Regions from separate parts of the Homo sapiens genome. Here region 2 is linked to region 1. The links are contacts of gene promoters, found by promoter capture Hi-C in blood cells and fetal thymus (Javierre and others, 2016). All regions are on one chromosome and are shown on one strand. The core of a region is centred on a gene start or on the middle of the fragment in contact, and the rest is flanking DNA. Distances in the headings are between cores, read along the strand shown.

Region 1 (3,046 bases), core at 238-2,737:
GGTCTACTAATGTAACGGTTGGGTAGCATGGATCATTGTATATCTGAATATCTTTCTTTTTACCTACATAAGGTGACATGTCAACTTAAAATATTTTTGGTCACAACCCACTTCCTTTAAAGTTTAGCTCACTGAAGTTTTTTTTTCTGGGTTTAGTGTTTTGGAAAAGTGTAAGGGTACATTATCCTCCTAGATTCTTGCAAAAGCTCTGCCCTCGTGGAATTTACAGTCCAAAAGAGAAAAAATAAATTATTTGTGATGAAGAGTGCAATATGCTTTGCATTTGCAAAGTCTTACTTTTCATAGTCTCCATCATCTTCATGAGATTTGGGGAGGAGGAAAGGCTCAGCCCACCCTTGGGTAATAGAAGTCACTCTGTGCCAGGACAGGAGTTAGGGAAAAGTTCCCAGATAGAAGAATTCACTATATCTTGGCTCCTTGTGAAAGCAACCCTGGGCTAAGACTGAGCCTTGATTTCATTCTAGAAATTCCTGTTGGTTTTTACAACTCAACTGACTATCACTTTATGGTCACCCCCAGGGAGCTAGATGCCTCCTTAACAGGCCCCACCTGGTTGGTAAGCAGCGAAATTATTTTCCTTTCTACATGCCATCTAGTGACTGACTTAAAAGTTGTTGCATCTCCATTCCTAAGAGCTCTGCTTTTGAATTGTTTTGGGATAAACCTGTCTCAAGCAGGGAATCTCAGCACTTTATTTCTTTTCAGTCCTTTAATCCTAATGCCAGGGCCTTACTCATAAAGCTTCGTAAATCTGTGGCCACTGAAATATCCTCTCTCCACCTGCCAATAACTTCTTAAACACACATTTTTCATGGAAATTGTTATTAGCCAAGCTCTTCTCTGCCCTCTTTAGGGACACATCGCCGTGCAGATTCAGCCAGGTACTTGTGGGTTCGGTTGATAAGACTGAGAATTCCTCGTTCCTCAGTTTCCTCGTTTGTAAAAATCGAGCTTGTAAAAATGGTATCTATCTCACGGCTTTGCTGTAAGAATCGAATGAAATAATGCACACGCACTTGCACAAAACCCGCTATATTATTATTACATTCTACTTTAAGACTGAAAATCATGCAAAAAATTGTTTGCAAATTCAAGCCAGATATCGTGTCCTGCTTACTAGAGAATCGCTCATATTAAGTCAAGCACCCCTCTTAGGGCTGCAGGCTATAGGAACAGTTTCTGCCATGAGCGTGCATCGATGAGGTTATCCACCCGCCCCCTCCACTTTGTGTGTCTGGGTCTCCAGATTTCATTATAAAGAGGCAGAGCCCATCAGAGAACTTGATCGGCAGCCAGGAACGGTTTTTTCCTGCTCTGGTCCTTTGTCAGGTCTTTGTTCCGCCCCTGGCTACACTCGATAACAGAACCACTTACTGGCGATTCACAGGAGGGGACCGGGCGGCAGGGCGGGGCGGGGCCTGCGGGGCGCGGGGCCGCGGCGCGGAGCCGGCGCAGCGATTGGGTTCACCCGGGGGGCCGCGCTGCGCGGAGTGCCAGGCTGCGGGCGGCTGCAGACCTGGGAGCGGAGACCGGCCCGCCGCCCCCGACGCCGCCGAGCACGTCAGCGGCGCGCAGCCGGGGCTCGGAGACCGACGGGCAGAACGACGGGCGGCGACTGCGGCGACCGCGGGACGGCGAGAGGCACGCGGCGGGAGGGGACCGGAATCCGCAGCTCCGGCCGCGCCATGGACGGCAACGACAACGTGACCCTGCTCTTCGCCCCTCTGCTGCGGGACAACTACACCCTGGCGCCCAATGCCAGCAGCCTGGGCCCCGGCACGGACCTCGCCCTCGCCCCTGCCTCCAGCGCCGGCCCCGGCCCTGGGCTCAGCCTCGGGCCGGGTCCGAGCTTCGGCTTCAGCCCCGGCCCCACTCCGACCCCGGAGCCCACGACCAGCGGCCTCGCGGGCGGCGCGGCGAGCCACGGCCCTTCCCCGTTCCCTCGGCCCTGGGCGCCCCACGCGCTCCCGTTCTGGGACACGCCGCTGAACCACGGGCTGAACGTGTTCGTGGGCGCCGCCCTGTGCATCACCATGCTGGGCCTGGGCTGCACGGTGGACGTGAACCACTTCGGGGCGCACGTCCGTCGGCCCGTGGGCGCGCTGCTGGCAGCGCTCTGCCAGTTCGGCCTCCTGCCGCTGCTGGCCTTCCTGCTGGCCCTCGCCTTCAAGCTGGACGAGGTGGCCGCCGTGGCGGTGCTCCTGTGTGGCTGCTGTCCCGGCGGCAATCTCTCCAATCTTATGTCCCTGCTGGTTGACGGCGACATGAACCTCAGGTACGGATCTGTCTATTCCTTGGGCATCTGTCTCATCCCAGACGCGCGTTTACGGCCGTGGGCTCACGACGAAGGACAGAGGCAGTGGAGGGGTTGGAATTAGGCGTGGAGGAAGGAGGAGAAAAGGAGAGGAAGTTGATGACGCCCCGGCTTTAGAAGTCAAGGCCGACCTGCAGGTTGTGCTGCTAGGGGAGCAAGCTAGACGGCGAGGGAGCTGCTCCAAGGCTGGGATTCCATGCGCAGCGCGGCCCTTCAGCAGGGTCCCTCGCCGTCCTCCCCGAGCGTCGGGGTGGCAGCGCAGGTCGTTGTCCAGTGGAAGACAAAGAGAAGGGGGAGTCTGAACTAGAACTCGCCGGCAACGTAAAAGTAAAATAGGGCTACTGGCCCGTCAGAGAAAGTAATCTCACATAGAGTGCAGGATTGTTGAGTCCGACCAACAAGTAGCAGTCAGCAGCTTTACCATGGCTTACCTTGCAGGGGGCTTGCAAGGAAGAACGTTCCTTCCCCTCAGAATCATCCAGGCTCAATAGACTTTATAATGTCGAGGGCAGCAGTACCGAGACAGGGGGCTTGTTTTTCCTCCCTGCCTTGGGTTCATAATTCCATCGGTGTTAGACGTGCTGCTCTCTTGGCACTCTCCTCGGATGTAGGTTCTGCCCAGACTTCAACCCCGGGACTTGCAGTCTCCCCGTTCCACCTCTACTCAACATACAAGAAAAAGGTTAGCTGGCTGTTTGACTCAAAGCTCGT
Region 2 (3,156 bases), core at 528-3,027, 270 kb before region 1:
CATCTGTGGTCCAGGCAGGCTCAGAACTTGGCTTCCCAGAGGCAGGGGTGAGGCAAAGAGCCAAAGTCTGAGCAGAGGGTGGGAGTGGCAGGTCTCCTCTATCCCACTTAGCCAACAACTGTGGCCAGCACATATGAATGCTTAATAACAATTTCTCCATCTGAGAATCATAATATTTGGCCATGAAAGGGATTCTGGTGATCACAGTCTAATTTCCTCAATTTAGGGTGGAAACTGAGGGACTGACCTCTCCAAGATCACACTGGCTAGCAGAGCCAGAACTAACTCCAAGCTTCTAACTGCCAGTTCATGTTTCACTGTGCCCTGGCGTGGCAACATACATGAATTAGCAACATCTTGTCTCTCCCATCTCAAAACCCTCCAAAATCTGCCTGTTACTTAAAAAACAAAAACAAAACAAACAAAAAAATGAATTTGCCCAGCTCTCTGGCCTCCTCCCCTCCCATGCCCACCCCATTCCACCTCAGTTCCTTTCCCTCTCTGCTGTTCTTTGAGCAATAAAGCATTTCCCACCTCCCTGGGGTCCTTTGTACTCTTGGCTTCTCCGTGGCCTGCCCTGCTCTTCCTAAGTTCTCTATTCCCTACCTACAGAAACAGCAGGCAAGGCCCCATCTCTCTCATGCGGCTTTACTTTTCTCATGGCAGGGGGATATTTACTGGTATCTGTACGTTGTCTGCATCTCCCCTTTAGAAGGTAAATTCCAGGACAGCAGGGCATTTACCTTCTATACTATTGTGTCCACAGAGCCTACAACAGTACTTGGCACAAAGTAGGTGCTTAAAATATTTTTGTCAAATGAACAGATTCAAGTAAAAAAGAATTGGGGGTGGTGGCTAAGAAATTCAAGTAGAGATGTCTGTGGGTGCCTTCCAAGTTAGATAGGCTGGGTTTGAATTCAATTATCCCACCGTGGTAGTCACTATGAATTATAAATCTAGATTTCTCTATTTCTAAATTTGTATTTCGGTCAATTCAGAAAATTTAAGGTTACTGGGTAGATATATTCCTCCACCACTCCCCATCAATGCCTCCCTCCAGAACACACAGCTTATAACTTTCTCAGCACAGAAAGTTTTAATCCCATGCTTTTGAATGTTCTTGTTTAGCACTTAAAATACCTTTTAATTTTTTTTAATTTTTTTCTTCTCGTAATTTGGATTAAATTCAGTAGAAAATAACCCTTCCATAATGAAGTTGATGATAGAAAACTATGTCTCTATGTAACAGTCAGACGTAGCAGAGTATAATGGTTGGTTACAAAATAAATTTGTAGGCAGGCACAGTACCTCACTTTGGGAGGCTGAGGTGGGAGGACTACTTGAGCCCAGGAGTTTGAGACCAGCCTGGCAACATAGAGAGAGCTCATCTCTACAAAAAAAAATTAAAAATAACAAATAATTAGTTGGGCATGGTAGCAAACGCCTGTATCCCAGCTATTCGGGAGGCTGAGGTGGGAGGATGGCCTGAGCCCAGGATTTTGAGGCTGCAGTGAGTTGTGAACACACCAATACACTCCAGCCTGGGTAACAGAGTGAGACTTTGTCTCAAAAAAAATAGATTTATAAAAAATCAAGCTTGATGATATATTAACAATAATTACAACATATCATGGGGAAAAAAACCTATTCACAAGAGTAGCTAAAACTATAAAATAGGAATACATTTAACAAGAAAAGTATAGGACTTCAAAAACAACAACTGTTTAACTCTATTCAGGGAAATAAAATTAACAGATTAAAGTAGAGACACACCACTTTGTTTTTCAAAGGAAGAACTTAGAGAACATAAACCAATTGTAAACATGCTTGTTTATTAGCTGTTTTACAGTGGAAATGTTTGAGAGTATTTCACTGTCAGAGTTTGCAGAAATTGTCAGATATTAGAACAAATGAAATGTTATGTGCTCTACAGAGGCAGATCCAGATTTTGAGGGATCTGAAGCTTAAACACTTTGGAGGAGAAATCTTTGTCAATTAAAAATTAAAAATAAAACTAAAATGCAAAATCATAAATGCAAAAGCTCTGGGGCCCTTCCAGAGGCCTTAGGAAGGGCTATGGAATTGAAAGAGCCTAAAGCTTACTTTTCTTTAACTCCATAGCAGACCCACCTCTGTTGTCATAAAAATGTAAAGTTGGTCAGACTCGGTAGCTTATGCCTGTAATCTTGGCACTTTGGGAGGCTGAGGCAGGAGGATCCCTTGAGGCCAGAAGTTTAAGACCAGCCTAGGCAACATAGCAAGACTCCATCTCTACAAAACTAAAAACAAAAAATTAGCAGGAATAGTGGCACGTGCCTGTCATCCTGGTCCTTAGGAGGCCAAGGTGGGAGGATCCCTTGAGCCCAGGAGTTTGAGGCTGCAGTGAGCTATGACCACACCACTGCACTCCAGTCTGAGTGACAGAATGAGACTGCCTCTTTATAAAAAAAATGGAGGAGGAGGAGGAGGAGGATGATGAGGAGGAGGAGGAGGAAGAGGGAGGAAAGAAAAACTAAAACTGAGAAAGCAACACCACAGTTACCACAACTGGCACCCTATCGATATGTGTACCACTGGCAAACATCCAGAGAAAAACATCCACAGCAGACGACCCCCAACAGAGTTCCATGAACATGGTTCAGAGATGTCAAACACATGAACCTACCCGAGGTATGCATTTCCACCAGTTACCAGAACTCCAAAACATAACCAGACTACCAGCACCACAGATCAATTTAAAGAGTGAATCACCTGTGATTAGTGACCTAATAACACAATGACACAATTACACTCATTGCAAATGCATTGATATCTGGGAAAAAACAGAGGCAAGAGCAAAGACTGAAACATGTAAAGACACAATGGGCAACAATGCAACCTACCTTATGTATATAATAATAACAGCTGCTTACATGCACTTACCTACCAGGACCTATCCTAGCCACTTTATCTATACTGATCCATTTACCCCTCAAAAACTCCTATGAGGGAAGTATTATTATTCTCCCCAGTTTAAAGGTGAGACACAGAGAGATTAAGTAATTTGTCCTAGGTCATGCAATTAATAAGTAACAGATTTAGAATTTGAACCCAGATAATCTGGCACAAGAGTCCATCCTCTTAGTCTCTCACTCCCTAACTTCACAGAAATTCTGT

What was found. Contacts are between HindIII fragments. The CHiCAGO score rates a contact against its expected background, and 5 or more counts as called.
Region 2: a fragment that was not itself captured here is called in contact with the fragment with the promoter of SLC10A4 in region 1 in 1 of 17 cell types (erythroblasts); the score reaches 5.6 in erythroblasts.

The regions. Positions count from the first base shown.
Region 1 is chr4:48,481,856-48,484,901 of GRCh38, forward strand. SLC10A4 (solute carrier family 10 member 4) reads left to right here and starts at 1,488. Exons shown (of 3, transcript NM_152679.4): 1 at 1,488-2,296. The coding sequence starts at 1,707. RefSeq lists a cis regulatory region at 1-153 and silencers at 1,408-1,457, 1,538-1,667. The HindIII fragment of the contact is 5,112 bases long and covers 761-3,046 here.
Region 2 is chr4:48,208,045-48,211,200 of GRCh38, forward strand. The region is part of intron 2 of TEC (tec protein tyrosine kinase); the gene reads right to left. Among named protein-coding and RNA genes, the nearest start is that of TEC, 60 kb to the right of the region's middle. RefSeq lists an enhancer at 2,577-2,716. The HindIII fragment of the contact is 367 bases long and covers 1,595-1,961 here.